2 separate regions of the Homo sapiens genome follow, and region 2 is linked to region 1. The links are contacts of gene promoters, found by promoter capture Hi-C in blood cells and fetal thymus (Javierre and others, 2016). All regions are on one chromosome and are shown on one strand. The core of a region is centred on a gene start or on the middle of the fragment in contact, and the rest is flanking DNA. Distances in the headings are between cores, read along the strand shown.

Region 1 (7,305 bases), core at 3,904-6,403:
ATCAGAGCCTTCCAGTGCCATGAGGGCCACTTGGCCTGGAGTCTAGGCCAGAGCAGGGACAGGCAAGGAAGGGACAGGCAAGGAAGGGGGCAGGCAACTGCCCCTTGTCGGAACCACCCCCACCTCGGCTGAGGTCATTAGCGTCAAAGGTGCCTGCGACGGGGTAGCAGGTCGTGCCGTCACCCCCACACCGCAGACACTTGTCCTCCTGCTTGGACGAGTCCAGCTCGTGATCACAGCCGACAACCTGTGGGCAGAGATGCGGGAGGCAGGGGAGACGGCATCATGGCCACATCAGGCCTTGGGCCCCGTCGCATCCTAACCCCAGCACCCACGCAGCCCAGGCAGGATAGGGTGGTCGGGAGTGATTCAGCCACCAGCCAGGGGACTGGCCTGTGGCTGACAATCCACTTCTCTGTCTGCTCAGCTCCCATCTCCCCTTCTGGTAATAATGCCCTGTTTTCCTTGAGGGGCCACCTCTCTCCCGCAGAGTTTGAACGGAGCTCCCCAAATGTGGGTTTGGGGAGGTTGGAGTGGTTCAGGGTAAGTCCCAAACCAAGACGAATCAGAGACAACCCCCGGTGGCTAGAACTCCTGGGAATGAGGCCCCCTTTCCCTGGGAATTCCCTTTCTAGGGAGCAGAAGGTCGGAGCAGCTGGCGGCCACCTCCACACCTCCTGGGAAGAATGGGCCAGATCCTGATGCTGGACCCAAGGAGAGGAAAGCCGAGTGGCACCTCATTCATGCGCCTGCGGCTGTCCCTGCTGTTTGTTTTTCTGAAGTCGGTTTTAGCCGGATTTCTGCCACCCAGAGGGTTTCTCTTATTGTAGGGCTAGCGTTCTCCAAGGATGAAGGTGAGGGGCCATAGGGCATCTGTGATGCCTGCAAGGTACCCTAGGAGCTGGGCTTGGTGTCCTGGTAACTTGAGAAGACACCAAGCTCATGGCAGCTACCTGGGCCTATGGGTGATGGACAGGGAAACACCCGCACTGAGCCCCCAGGCAGCCCGGAGGCAGGGAGGGGCTGGGGCACCACTCACCCGGCAGCTGCCATCCACACAGACATCCCTCTTGCCAGGCTCGCAGGGCGTCCCATCAACCACAGCCTCCCTGTGCTTGTAGTAGAAGTTCTCCCCCTTGGGAATGCAGTTCAGTTCACACTTGTTTGGGGCTGGGGTGGGCAGGAAGGCAAGACTGAGATCCTGAGGTTGATGATGCCCCTCCCCAAGACCCAAGGCTTACCCTAGCAACAGGAAAGCATGGGTCAGAAAGCCCTGCAGCAGGCCCCGCAGAGCACAGATCCCCGCCCCATCCCCAGGAGAAGGGACCGTCTCCATGAATCTGTTGCACCTCTAAGGATCAAGTCGAAGAAAAATCCCAGAATCAGGAAAAAGTGAAACACTTAAAGAAGTCTACCTCAGCATTATTTACCACAGCTGAGGTGGTTACAACAGGCTACTTTTTTTTTTTTTTTTTTTTTGAGGTGGAGTCTCGCTCTTGTTGCCCAGGCTGGAGTGCAGTGGCACGATCTCGACTCACTGCAACCTCCGCCTCCCTAGTTTAAGCAATTCTCCTGCCTCAGCCCCCCTAGTAGCCGGGACTACAGGCACGCGCCACCACACCCGGCTAAGTTTTGTACTTTTAGTAGAGATGGGGTTTCACCATGTTGGGCAGGCTGGTCTCGAACTCCTGACCTCAGGTGATCCACCTGCCTCAGCCTCCCAAAGTGCTGGGATTACAGGTGTAAACCACTGTGCATGGCCATAACAGGCTACTCTTTAAATAAATTATCAATGGAATATTACACATGCTGACTATGCAGTTACAAATGATGATTGTGAAGACTATATGGTGTGGGAAGATGCTTAAAACACAGAATGCAAAATGGTGATTACTATGCAATAATTACAAATATGTAAGCATATATGGAGAGAATAATGTGAAAGGGGCTAAAATGAAATGCTAACAGTGATCTTGTGAAAGGGGCAGGATGAGGATAACTTTTTTCTGGTTTTAATGTTTTTCAGATGGGATCTCACTCTGTCTCCCAGGCTGGAATGCAGAGGCACGATCAAAGCTCACAGCAGCCTCTACCTCCGAGACTCAAGTGGTCCTCCAGCCTCAGTCTCTCGAATAGTTGGGACTATAGGCACATGCCATCATACCCAGCTAATTTTTTTATTTTTTGTAGAGACAGGGTCTCACTACGATACCCAGGCTGGTTTCAAACTCCTGGGCTCAAATGATCCTCCTGCCTCAGCCTTCCAAAGCACCAGGATTACAAGCAGGAGCCACTGTACCTGGCCTGGTTTTAATTTTTTTTTCTTCTTTTGGAGACAAGATCTCACTCTGTCGTCCGGGCTGGAGTGCAGTGGTGTGATCTTGACTCACTGCAGCCTCAACTTCCTGGGCTCAAGTGATCCTCCCACCTCAGCTTCTCGAATAGCTGGGACTACATGGGTGTGCAACCATGCCTAGCTAATCTTTGTATGCCTGGCTAATCTTCGTATTTTTGGTAGAGATGGGGTTTCACACATTGCCCAGGCTTGTCTCAAATTCCTGGACTCAAGTGATCCTCCTGCCTCAGCCTCCCAAAGTGCTGGGATTACGGGCATGAGCCACTGTACCCTACCTTAATTTTTATATTTATCTAAATATATACACATTTTAAAACAACCCAAAAGTACAAACAGGATTATAATCATCTCCATACCATGGAAGGTATCCCTCTACTCTCTTTTTAGACTTTCCCCTGTGTTCCAATTTTTCTATCATGTGACTATAATCAAATTATTTTTGACATGTGTCCACTTCAGGATCCAGGGGGAATTCTGAAAGCTAGAGTCCCACTGGGTCACGCCCACAGCCACAATCCCCACAACACACACACACACACACACACACATAGAGGATATGAGACTCCCACTGGGCCATGCCCACAGCCACAATCCCCACAACACACACAGACACACACACACACACACAGAGGATATGAGACTCCCACTGGGCCATGCCCACAGCCACGATCCCCACAACACACACACGCGCACACACACACACACACACACACACACACACAGAGGATATGAGACTCCCACTGGGCCACACCCACAGCCACAATCCCAACACACACACACACACACACACACACACACACACACACACACACAGAGGATATGAGACTCCCAGTGGGCCATGCCCACAGCCACGGTCCCCACAACACACACACACACACACACACACACACACACACACACACACACACGGAGGATATGAGACTCCCACTGGGCCACGCCCACAGCCACGATCGCCACCACACACACACACACACACACACACACACACACACACACACACGGGATAAGAGACTCCCACTGGGCCACGCCCACTGCCACTATCGGCACAACACACACACACACGCACAGAGGACATGAGACTCCCACTGGGCCATGCCCACAGCCACGATCCCCACAACACACACACACACACACGCACACACACACAGGATAAGAGACTCCCACTGGGCCACACCCACTGCCACGATCGGCACAACACACACACACACGCACAGAGGACATGAGACTCCCACTGCGCCATGCCCACAGCCACGATCCCCACAACACACACACACACATACACAGGATATGAGACTCCCACTGGGCCATGCCCACAGCCACGATCCCCACCACACACACACAGAGAGAATATAAGTGCTCCTTGATCTGGAATCTAGAGTGCCACAGGGTCTCCAGAGGTCATTTGCCGCAAGCAGGGAAAACGAACACTCAGAAGACTTGTCTTGAGGAATCTTCTGATTCATCTAAAATGCTTAATGACATACATGTTGGTGCTTACCTGGGTGTTTTTTCCCTGAACTGTATTTCTCTAAAAATTAATGACTTATACCCTCCTCAGAGGTGCACAGACCATCTCCTCTGGCCCCCAGATCCTTGATAAATGAAGTCTTGGTGTACCAAGCCCCTTCCAGCCCCTCCTGCAGGATGACCGTGGGGCACCATTGCTACCGCTCCCGGGGTTCCCCATCTCCGTCTCTGTGCGACGGGAGGAACGCTTCCCATAGCAGACTGAGCAAAAACAGGGCTCAAAATGGTATAGACACACCATAGCTTCGTTTGAAAATATACATACATAAGGGGAGAAAGGATGGAAAGACCTCAAAATGGCTGCCATGGTGTTGCCACGGGCATGTGCTGGGGGGAGCAGGGGTACTGGTGATTGATTCATTATGGGTTGATCGATGGGGTATTTGACAAATGCTGGCTCTGGCAGCACATATACTAAAATTGGAACGATACAGAGATTAGCACAGCCCCTGCCCCCTTAGCTGGTATGGCATGCAAATTCATGAAGCATTCCATATTTACTTTAAAAATTATTTGGGAGGCTGAGGTGGAAGGATTGATTGAGCTTGGGAGGTACATGCTGCCCAGCTGACATGACACTGCTGCACTCAAGCCTGGGCAAGATCCTGTCTCAAAAAAAAAAAAAAAAGAAAGAAAGAAAAAGGAAAAGAAAAAAAGGAAAGGAAAGGAAGAGAGAAAAAAGAGCAAGCGAGAGAGAACGAGAGAGAAAGAAAAGAAAAAAAGATAAAGAAAAAGAGAGACCTCTTGCTCTCTCTCGAGGGACCTCTGCAGACCCTCTCCTCCCCAAAGGTGGGTCCTGTGGTCTACAAGATTTCCTGTACATTGCGAGCCCCCGCGCCCACCCAAAAAAAAAAAAAAAAAAAAAAAAAAAAATTGGTCGGGTACAGTGGCTCACGCCTGCAATCCCAGCACTCTGGGAGGTCGCTGCCGGCGGATCCCTTGAGCCCAGGAGTTCAAGACCAGCCTGGGCAACACAGTGAGACTGTCTCTAATATATATATATATGACAACGCCTCTATAATACGGCAATAGGAACTGTGGCATCAACGTAGGTATACAAGAGGCCCCGAGAGAGCGAGTCCCGGCCGCGCTCACCGCTGTAGTAGGGCAGCCACCGATACCGCCGCCCCTGGAACTCCGCTCCGTCGAACTCCGCGCACTGCTCGGCCCGGAAGTCCCGGGCGCCGTCGGGGCAGCTCTGCGGGGCGGAGGGGAAGTCGGGATCCAGGAGGGCGGAGTCCGAGGTCCGCCCACCTCCCGCCCCGCCCGAGCCCAGGGAGCCCAGGAGTCTCCCTTGCCTGCCCCATCGGAGCCGCCGGAGGTGGAGTCCGCCCCCCGGACCCCCGAACTCCTGTGCGTGCCCCTCCATGGTGCTCTAGGCTGTGGAGGGCAAGGCCAGTCCCCGGGAGCAGGGTGAGGAAGGGGCCCCCACGCAGCCCTGCTGTGGATTGGCGGGAGGACCCCAGGCTGGGCCAACCCAGCAGCCCGCGGCCAGGAGCGGGCATCCCAATGGGGAAATCGGCCAGGAGGGGCTGGGGAAGCTGGTGCCTTCGCCCGCGCCCCGTGAGCTTTACCTCCGTGCGACAAGAGCGGTGGCTCCGGGCGGGGCCCACGCAGCTGGAGCCTCCATCTCTCCTGCGGGACCAGAGCACCGGGAAGACCTGACCGAGACCCAACGTCCCTGCCCCCGTTCTGGGGCTCTCTGCAGGCCCCAACTTCTGCGGGACTCTCCAGTGGGAGCAGCAAGGTGAGAGGGTGTCCCCCGACCCCACCCCGTAAATCCCCCAGGTGGGAGTGAGCGACCCATGTTGGTACTCCAGAGAAGCGGGACTCAGAGCCCTACCCACCCTATAGTTTGGATTTAAGGCGGGACCACTCCACTGCATCTTAGGCAGATTCCCAGAGAAGACCCGAGGTGCATGAGATATAATACCCACCCGCTTGGCACAGCCATCCTGCGATCTAAGCAGGACATCAGTATAAGGCTCTTAGGATCATTCCTGGTCTCTCATTCCTCCTCACATAGGGTTCTCAGGAACAACCCCTATACAAACCGGGACAGAGGCACCTCACTACTCCTTCTGTGCCCCACCTTCTCCACTGACCCTGCCGGAGTGCAGCACACACAGCAAGCATTTAATAAATCGCTTGAAGTGGGGAACATCTGTACTCGGTAAAGAAACCACAGGAATTGGGAACTGCCGGTTGAAGATTATTTACCAGTTCCAGCAAAATTGACTGCACCTGCCATACTGCAGGCCGGTGCAGCATCAGGAGCTGGAGACCAGGGGCAACAGGCAGCACGCGTGCTCCAGCTCAGAGTGGAAGGCCCTGGGAAATGGTTTGATTTCCTGCGCTGAACTGATGCTGCTTCCAGAATGAATCTGCTCCTTGGTGGGTTCTGCTGATGTGGCCAGTGCTAGCCTAGGCCACGACCACCTAGCCCACCACCCAGAAGGCAGCATCCCCTGCTCCTGCTTTAACAAGCTGGCCCATTTTCATCTCTCCTACCTCTGGGAGTAGCAGGGGCGCTCCCGGAAGCTGACACCCCCTCCACAGGTCCGGCTGCAGGGGCTCCACTGGCTCCAGGGTCCCCAGGTGTCACTCTGCCGCCTCACCTTGGGAGCCTGCAGAAGACAGGACCATGCATCAGCATTGCCCACTCACAGCCTGAGCCCAGAGGCCCCTCCAAAGATGCTCTGCCTAAAACCCTCCCCTACCCATCAAGGAGTCTGGGATTCTCCCTTCCAGGGCCCACCTTTAGGACTCAGCAACACTGCCGGGCACCCCAAAACATATTCCTTTTCAGAATTAGCCTGCTTTCCTCATAAGGAGCTGAGAGCCAGGCCTGGAGGGCGGGAGCAGGAGCAGCTGGGAAGAGTTTGGAGTTTCAGGGGCCACTGGAGGGGAGGGACCCTACAGCCAGGGGCAGTTTGAGGGTCCAGGCATTTGTAGGTTAACCGTGATGTAGGGGAGGGGGGCCTAAAAGAAAATAAAGGGAAGCAACGTGGGGGGATCCTGCTAATCTGGCCGAGACTCCCAGGAGTACCCCAATATTCATCCCCTCCTTCTCCCATTGTGAGAGAATGCTTGAAAACTTGACTCAGCTGGGTACCTGGCTGCCCAAAATTTAAAAAAAAAATACATTTCCTGGACTGCCTGCAGCTAACTGTGGCTACATCACTTAGTTCTCATCAGTGAGATGTAAATACAAGTGTTGGGCAGCTGCCGCAAATAATCTCCTCAAGAGAGAGCCTGCGTGAGCCTTTGTCCTTTTCTCCTTCCTCCTGTACTCTTTCAGGCTGTCTGGGAAGCAGATGTGATGGCTGGAGTTGGAGCAGCCTTTTAGACTGTGAGGTAACTTGGAAATAGAGGCTTCAAACAGTGAAGCAAAGATAGAGGGACTCTAGAGCCTGGAGGAT
Region 2 (7,214 bases), core at 405-2,904, 370 kb before region 1:
GGAATGCAGTGGCGTGATCTCAGCTCACTGCAACCTCTACTTCCTGATATCAAACAATCCTCCCACCTCAGCCTCCCAAGCAGCTGGGACTACAGGCATGCACCACCATGCCTGCCTAATTTTTTTTTTTTTTTTTTTTTTTTTGTAGAGACAGAGTTTCACCATGTTGCCCAGGCTGGTCTTGAACTCCTGGGCTCAAGTGATCTGCCCACCTCAGCCTCCCAAAGTGCTGGGATTACAGGCCTGAGCCACTGTGCCCGGCTCATCATTTTTATATGGTAGAGGTTTAAGTCAGGAATTTAGTTAGAAGGGATTAATCAGGAGTCTTCTTTCTGGGCTACCTTTACCTAGCAAACATCCTGTGTTTACTTAGACTAGGGTTCCTCAACCTCAGTAGTACAGACATTTTCAGCAAGATAATTCTTTGTTCTGGTGGTTGTCCTGTGCATTGTGGAATGTTTAGCAGCATCTCTGGCCTCTGCCTGCTAGATGCCAATAGCACCTCTCCCTTCAGATATGACAACCACAAATGTCTCCAGATATTGCCAAATTTCCCCCAGGGAGGGCGGCTAATCATTGCAGGTTGAGAACCACGTACAGCATGTTTATGATAGAAGGGAGAGGACTGTCAGGCAGTTTTGTGTGTGTTTTTAAACAATTAAAGGGCATTGCCAATACTGTGGATTTTAGCTTCTTTGGAAGTTTGATGTGAAAGGAGGCAAAAATCCTTCTTGCACATCAGCTTAAGGTTTTGCCCATATCGTATTCAAACAAAACCACATGGCTGGCACATAGTGGCTCTCAATAAATATATAATAAGTTGAATGCACTATTCAGCACATAGCTAAAGTGGTGGTGCCTCCAGGGAGGGACGTGAAACTTAAAAAGGAAAGACTGGAGTAGCTACTCAGGAGGCTGAGGCGAGAGGACTTGAGCCCAGGAGTTCGAGGCTGCAGTGTGAGCTACGATCCAGCCACGGCACTCCAGCCTGGGCAACAGCGGACGCCCAGACTCAGAATCCATGACAGACTCTGGAGCGAAGGAACAAGTTCAGGGATGTTCCACAATCACGCGATTCCCAGGACAGGAAAGGGGCCGGTGGGGGTCGCAGAGCTCGACCAAATTCTGGGCAGACTACTCATCCGGCGGCAGGAAGAGCGCGGCGCGCACCGGGCCCGCGCGCACCGGCTCGCGCCGCACCCCCGGCCGGAGAAAGTCGCGCTTGTTCTGCGCCAGGCACAGCAGCCGCCCGGGCTCGGTGTCGTGGCCGTCCAGCACTTCCAGCTCCACGGCGAAGGGCGTCCGCACGTCGCGCTTCACCAGCCGCACCAAGGCTTTCTCGGGCTCCAACGCCCACAGCAGCCCCATGGGCTGGAGCCCCGCGAAGCTGCCTCCCAGCGCGGGCGCGCGCTCCAGGTCCAGCTCGTCGCGGGCGTCGGCACGGTAGCGCGCGTGGGCCCGGAAGAGCGCGCCCTCTTCGTCGCGCAGGGACGTGCGCAGCGTGACTGGCTGCTCCGGGGCCAGGCCGCGCACTGCGATGCGCAGCGGCTCGTCCCAGCAGCAGCGGCCCGCGGGCTCCAGGATCAGCGTCGCTGCCATCCCAATCTGGGTAGAACAGGGGCGACCCAGCTCCGCGGAGTCAGTGGGCGGGCCTGGCGGCTTTGCCGAGCGCTGGAAAGTAGTCGAGGGCGGAGCCCTTAACACTACTCCCATTGGTTGGACTTGGGGACAGGCTCCAGGCCGCTGCGTGGGGCGCCTAGAATTTGTGCAAATACACCAGTGTCCCAAATGAAAGAGTATCTGCTGAAATAAGAGTTAATGACCAATCCGGCCGGGGGCGGTGGATCACGCCTGTGATCCTAGAACTTTGGGAGGCCGAGGTGGGTGGATCACACCTGAGGTTAGGAGTTCAAGACCAGCCTGACCAACAGAGTGAAACCTCATCTCTACTGAAAATACAAAATAGCCAGGTGTGGTGGCGCATGCCTGTAATCCCGGCTACTTGGGAGGCTGAGGCAGAAGAATTGCTTGAACCCAGGAGGCAGAGGTTGCATTGAGCCAAGATTGCACCATTGTACTCCAGCCTAGGCAACAAGGGCAAAACTCCGTCTAAAAAAAAAAAAAAAGAGTTAATGACTATTCCTGCAATCCAATGTGGTGAGTGTCGAAATAGAGGCACAAAAACCACTGAGAGCTAAAGGATTGAGAGAGATACAGTCCAAGAATCTAGATTTTGAAAAAGCATCCCAGGTGATTGTACTCAGGTGACCCCTTGGAGAAACATGGTCGTAATCCGTCCTTTACCCCTCAGTCCCTTACCAAGCCTTTTTTCCAGGGCTAATGGTACCTGGAGCAAAGCAGATGTTTAGGGAGGCAGACCTAGCCGAGTTCTGGTCTGACCCTGATCCTTAATATTAATACCTGGTGATCTTTAGCAAGAAACATAACCCTCTAAATTCAGTTTTCTTATCTGAAAAGGCTTATTGTGACCATTAAATGGGCTAATGTGTAAAAACACTACACTGACACACCTGTAGGTTAGTACCCAGTGAAAGTTTTGTTTTGTTTCTTACCTCACAAATCTAATCACTGGCAGAGTCCATTTTGGGTTGTATGCATACAGAGTTCTGGCAGTAAGCAAGTGGCACTCTCAGCCTGTGTAATTGAGGAGAGTTTTATAAAGGTACTATCTACAAAGGCATGGGCAAGATTTAAAAACAAAAACAATGAAACAAGATTCGGTGTAGAACCCTGAATCTGAAGGTTCAAGGGAAGGGGGCAGTCTGATAGGAGTTGTACCTTTTTTAGAAGGAACCTATGGTTTGTGGCAGGAAGGAGGAGACTATAAGTCCCTTGACTCTCCTCTTGTTTTTCAGTATCTTGCTAATGCCTCTCTTTGGCCAAACCCAACCACACAGCTCAACCTAGCTGGGAACATAGCAGGGTGGAGAAGGAAGAAGAGCATATAGTGATGCCCAGCTCAGTAAACATGTATAAACTGAACAAAAAGGTATTAGACTCTATGAAGCAAGTTCACTGTATGCTGGTTACCAACTTGTCTGAGTCCAGTGAGAAAACACATTCATATATTTAATACAACAATTTACATGAACTGGATTTATTACTTACAGATAGGCAGCAAAGAATGACAGAAGCCTAAGAATCATTGGAAACCAGTCCCCCAAGGCTCAGGAATGCTGCCTGGGTGATGGAATCTCATGTGTGTGTGCCCCACTTGCACTGCAGCTGCCCTGAGTTTTGTACTCTGGGGTCATGTGACTGCTGGGTTAAAGCATTGAAAGACATCCTGTTTGTAGGGAGGGGCTGGAATAGAGCCAGGGCTATTCCAGCCAGTCCGTCCCTCTCTCAGGATGTTACATTCCCAGCACGTTCTATGCTTGAGAACTACTAGTGAGAAAGAGGGGAGAACTGAGTCAGTCCAAGGCCAACCAGAGAACTGCCCTGCAGTCCATCCCCAACCCAGATACCTCCTTTAGTAAACCTAGTACATTTCATATGCCCTCCAGACCCCCAGGATCTGGAGGCAGAGGTTTGTCTGATCATATTAATATGGCACCTTGGTCGGGCACGGTGGCTAATGCCTGTAATCCCAGCACTTTGGGAGGCCGAGGGGGGCGGATGACTTGGGGTCAGGAGTTTGAGACCAGCCTGGCCAACATGGTGAAACCCTGTCTCTACTAAAAATACAAAAATTAGCTGAACGTGGCAGCACGCGCCTGTAATCCCAGCTATTCAGAAGGCGGCGGCAGGAGAATTGCTTGAACCCGGGAGGTGGTGATTGCAGTGAGCCGAGATCTCGCCACTGCTCTCCAGCCTGAGCGACAGAGCAAGACTCCCTCTAAAAGAAAAAAAAAAAAAAGCGACACTTGACTGAAACAATCTCGGTGCAACATTGTTAAGCCATGGCCGGAATATATTGCATTAGGCCCAGGAGACTACTATAATAAGCAGGATGATCAGGCTTGCTTGGAGCTGTGGCCTACCCCCAAGTCCTAGTGATCCAGGCAAGAAGTTTTGAGGTCCAAGAAAGATTCTTTAGGTAGCCACTCTGACTGCAACCAGTAGGCCTGCTTCCAGATCCTCTACCTATGTCTCCACCATGCCTGAGGTGTTTATCCAGGTACACCAGGAGGTGTTGGCAGTGGCACACACTCCTCCCAATTAGTCTAAAAAAAAAAAGGGTAGAGGAATTCTGTTGTTTAAAACAACCTGGCCAGGCGCGGTGGCTCATGCCTGTAATCTCAGCACTTTGGGAGGCTGAGGCGGGTGGATCACGAGGTCAGGAGTTTGAGACCAGTCTGGCCAACATGGTGAAACCCCGTCTCTACTAAAAATACAAAAATTAGCCAGGCATGGTGGTGCGTGCCTGTAGTCCCAGCTACTCGGGAGGCTGAGGCAGGAGAATTGCTTGAACCCGGGAGGCAGAGGTTGTGGTGAGCCGAGATCGCACCACTGCATTCCAGCCTGGGTAACAGAGCGAGATTCTGTCTCAAAAATAAAATAAAATAAAATAAATAATAGAACAACCTTCCCAAGGGAGTTGAAGGATGTCCCTGTGCTGCCAAGGCAGTGGCACTGGAAGCAGCAATATCAGGCACAGTTTTCTTATCATTTTTTTCATGAGCACTGACTCCTATATATGGTACCAAAAATTTCATAGAGGACCTAAACCTAGAATCAGCCACGACCTGGCAGGTTCCTAATAAGCATGGTGCATACTTTTAGACTACTGGCCCAATGATGTTTCTTGTACCCAGGGGTGATATGCAGGAGCACCCCCAGCATGCCCAATGTCCAGGATCCCATCATCTGCCAGCTTTCCAGGTATGACATTGTCCATCCCATGTTTGGCTCACTCCCAGATCACCCACAGAGGAAGAGGCAGCTTTTGGATGCACACTGCATCATTTTATTCAGCAACCCAGTCATGGCTATGGAGGATTGGTATTCACCAGCCAATTCTCATTGATGGCATAGTGACATGAGCTCAGTCTCCCCCATACAATCAATATCGTTCACAAAACCTGTACACAGAGGGTTAGCATTACACCTGATATGGTTTGGCTGTGTCCCCACCCAAATCTCATCTTGAATTATAGTTCCCATAATCCCCATATGTCCTGGGAGGGACCTGGTGGGAGGAAATTGAATCATGGGGGTGGTTAGTCTCATGCTGTTCTGGTGATAGTGAGTGAGTTCTCATGCGATCTGATGGTTTTATAAAGGCTTTCCCCCTTTTGCTCAGCACTTTTTGTTGCCGCCATGTGAAGGACATGTTTGCTTCCCCTTCTGCCATGATTGTAAGTTTCCTGAGGCCTCCTCAGCCATGCTGAACTGTGAGTCAATTAAATCTCTTTCCTTCGTAAATTATCCCATCTCAGGTAGGTCTTTATTAGCAGTGTGAGAACAGACTAATACAGTAAGTTAGTATCACAGAGAGTGGGGCACTGCTGTAAAGATACCCAAAAATGTGGAAGCGACTTTGGAACTGGGTAACAGGCAGCAGTTGGCACCGTTTAGAGGGCTCAGAAGAAGACAGGAAAGCGTGGGAAAGTTTAGAACTGCCTAGAGACTTGGAGGGCTCAGAAGACAGAAAGATGTGAGAAAGTTTGGAACTTCCTAGAGGCTCATTAAATGGCTTTCACCAAAATGCTGATAGTGATATGAACAATGAAGTCCAGGCTGAGGTGGTCTCAGATGGAGATGGGGAACTTGTTGGGAACTGAAGTAAAGGTCACTCTTGCTATGCAAAGAGGCTGGTGGCATTTTGCCCCTGCCCCAGAGATCTGTGGAAGTTTGAACTTGAAAGAGATGATTTAGGGTAACTGGCAGAAGAAATATGTAAGCAGCAAAGCGTTCAAGAGGAAGCAGAGCATAAAAGTTTGGAAAATTTGCAGACTGACTATGCTATAGAAAAGAAAAACCCTGGCGGGGCACAGTGGCTCATGCCTGTAATCCCAGCACTTTGGGAGGCCAAGGCAGGTGGGTCACAAGGTCAGGAGGTTAAGATCAGCCTGGCCAAGATGGTGAAACCCCATCTCTACTAAAAGTACAAAAATTAGGCAGGCACAGTGGCAGGCGCCTGTAATCCCAGCTACTCGGGAGGCTGAGGCAGGCGAATCGCTTGAACCCAGGAGGCGGAGCTTGCAGTGAGTCAAGATTGCACCACTGTACTTCAGCCTGGGCAACAGAGCAAGACTCTATCTCAAAAGAAAAAAGAAAACCCCGCTGGGCATGGTGGCTCATGCCTATAATCCCAGCACTTTGGGAGGCCGAGGTGGGTGGATCACCTGAGTTCAGGAGTTCGAGACCAGCCTGGCAAACATGGTGAAACCCCATCTCTACTAATAATACAAAAATTAGCCAGGCGTGGTGGTGCATGCCTGTAATCCCAGCTACTTGGGAGGCTGAGGCAGGAGAATTGCTTGAACCCAGGAGGCAGAGGTTGCAGTGAGCCCAGATCGCTCCATTGCACTCCAGCCTGGGTGACAAGAGCGAAAGTCTTCCTCCAAAAAAAAAAGAAAGAAAAGAAAAGAAAACCCTATTTTCTGGGGAGAAAATCAAGCCGGCTGCAGAGACTTGCATAAGTAACAAGGAGCCTAATGATAATCACCAAGACAATGGGGAAATGTCTCCAGGGCATGTCACAGACCTTCATGGCAGCCCCTCCCATCACAGGCCTGGAGGCCTAGAAGGGAAAAATGATTTCTTGGTCTGGGTCCAGAGCCCTCCTGCTGTGTGCAGCCTTGTGACTTGGTGCCCTGTGTCCCAGCCACTCCAGCCCTGGCTAAAAGGGGCCAAGGTACAGTTCAGGACATTTCTTTCTTTTTTTATTTTTTTGAGACTGAGTCTCTCTCTGTCACCCAGACTGGAGTGCAGTGGTGCAATCTTGGCTCACTGCAACCTCTGCTTCCCAGGTTCAAGCAATTCTCCTGCGTCAGCCTCCCGAGTAGCTGGGATCATAGGCACGTGCCATGACACCCAGCTAATTTTTGTATTTTTAGTAGAGACAGGGTTTCACCATGTTGGCCAGGCTGGTCTCAAATTCCTGGCTTCGTGATCCACCCACCTCGGCCTCCCAAAGTGCTGGGATTACAGGCGTGAGCCACAGTGCCTGGCCTCCATCTTGTTTTATGACCTTGAGAGCTTGACGTTGTAACCACAAGATGGTACTTCCTCTTGGTCTCCACCTT

Evidence for each region. The method cuts DNA at HindIII sites, captures the fragments that hold promoters and counts their contacts. A CHiCAGO score of 5 or more calls a contact.
Region 2: a contact is called between the fragment with the promoter of ACOT6 here and the fragment with the promoter of PAPLN-AS1 in region 1, in 3 of 17 cell types (erythroblasts, monocytes and total B cells). The highest score is 6.4, in erythroblasts.

The regions. Positions count from the first base shown.
Region 1 is chr14:73,243,849-73,251,153 of GRCh38, reverse strand. It overlaps PAPLN-AS1 (PAPLN antisense RNA 1), which reads left to right and starts at 5,153. Exons shown (of 2, transcript NR_135248.1): 1 at 5,153-5,630; 2 at 5,910-7,136. PAPLN (papilin, proteoglycan like sulfated glycoprotein) reads right to left here. Exons shown (of 27, transcript NM_001365906.3): 3 at 6,395-6,510; 4 at 5,458-5,518; 5 at 4,979-5,081; 6 at 1,040-1,170; 7 at 124-247. It also overlaps the pseudogene RNU6-419P. RefSeq lists silencers at 2,501-2,580, 5,049-5,318 and enhancers at 3,392-3,893, 4,032-4,101. The HindIII fragment of the contact is 12,638 bases long and covers 1-7,305 here.
Region 2 is chr14:73,606,957-73,614,170 of GRCh38, reverse strand. It overlaps ACOT6 (acyl-CoA thioesterase 6), which reads right to left and starts at 1,654. Exons shown (of 3, transcript NM_001365788.1): 1 at 1,139-1,654. The coding sequence starts at 1,599. It also overlaps a transcript of HEATR4 not described here. RefSeq lists a silencer at 74-318 and enhancers at 1,394-1,443, 977-1,476, 1,494-1,543. The HindIII fragment of the contact is 17,987 bases long and covers 1-7,214 here.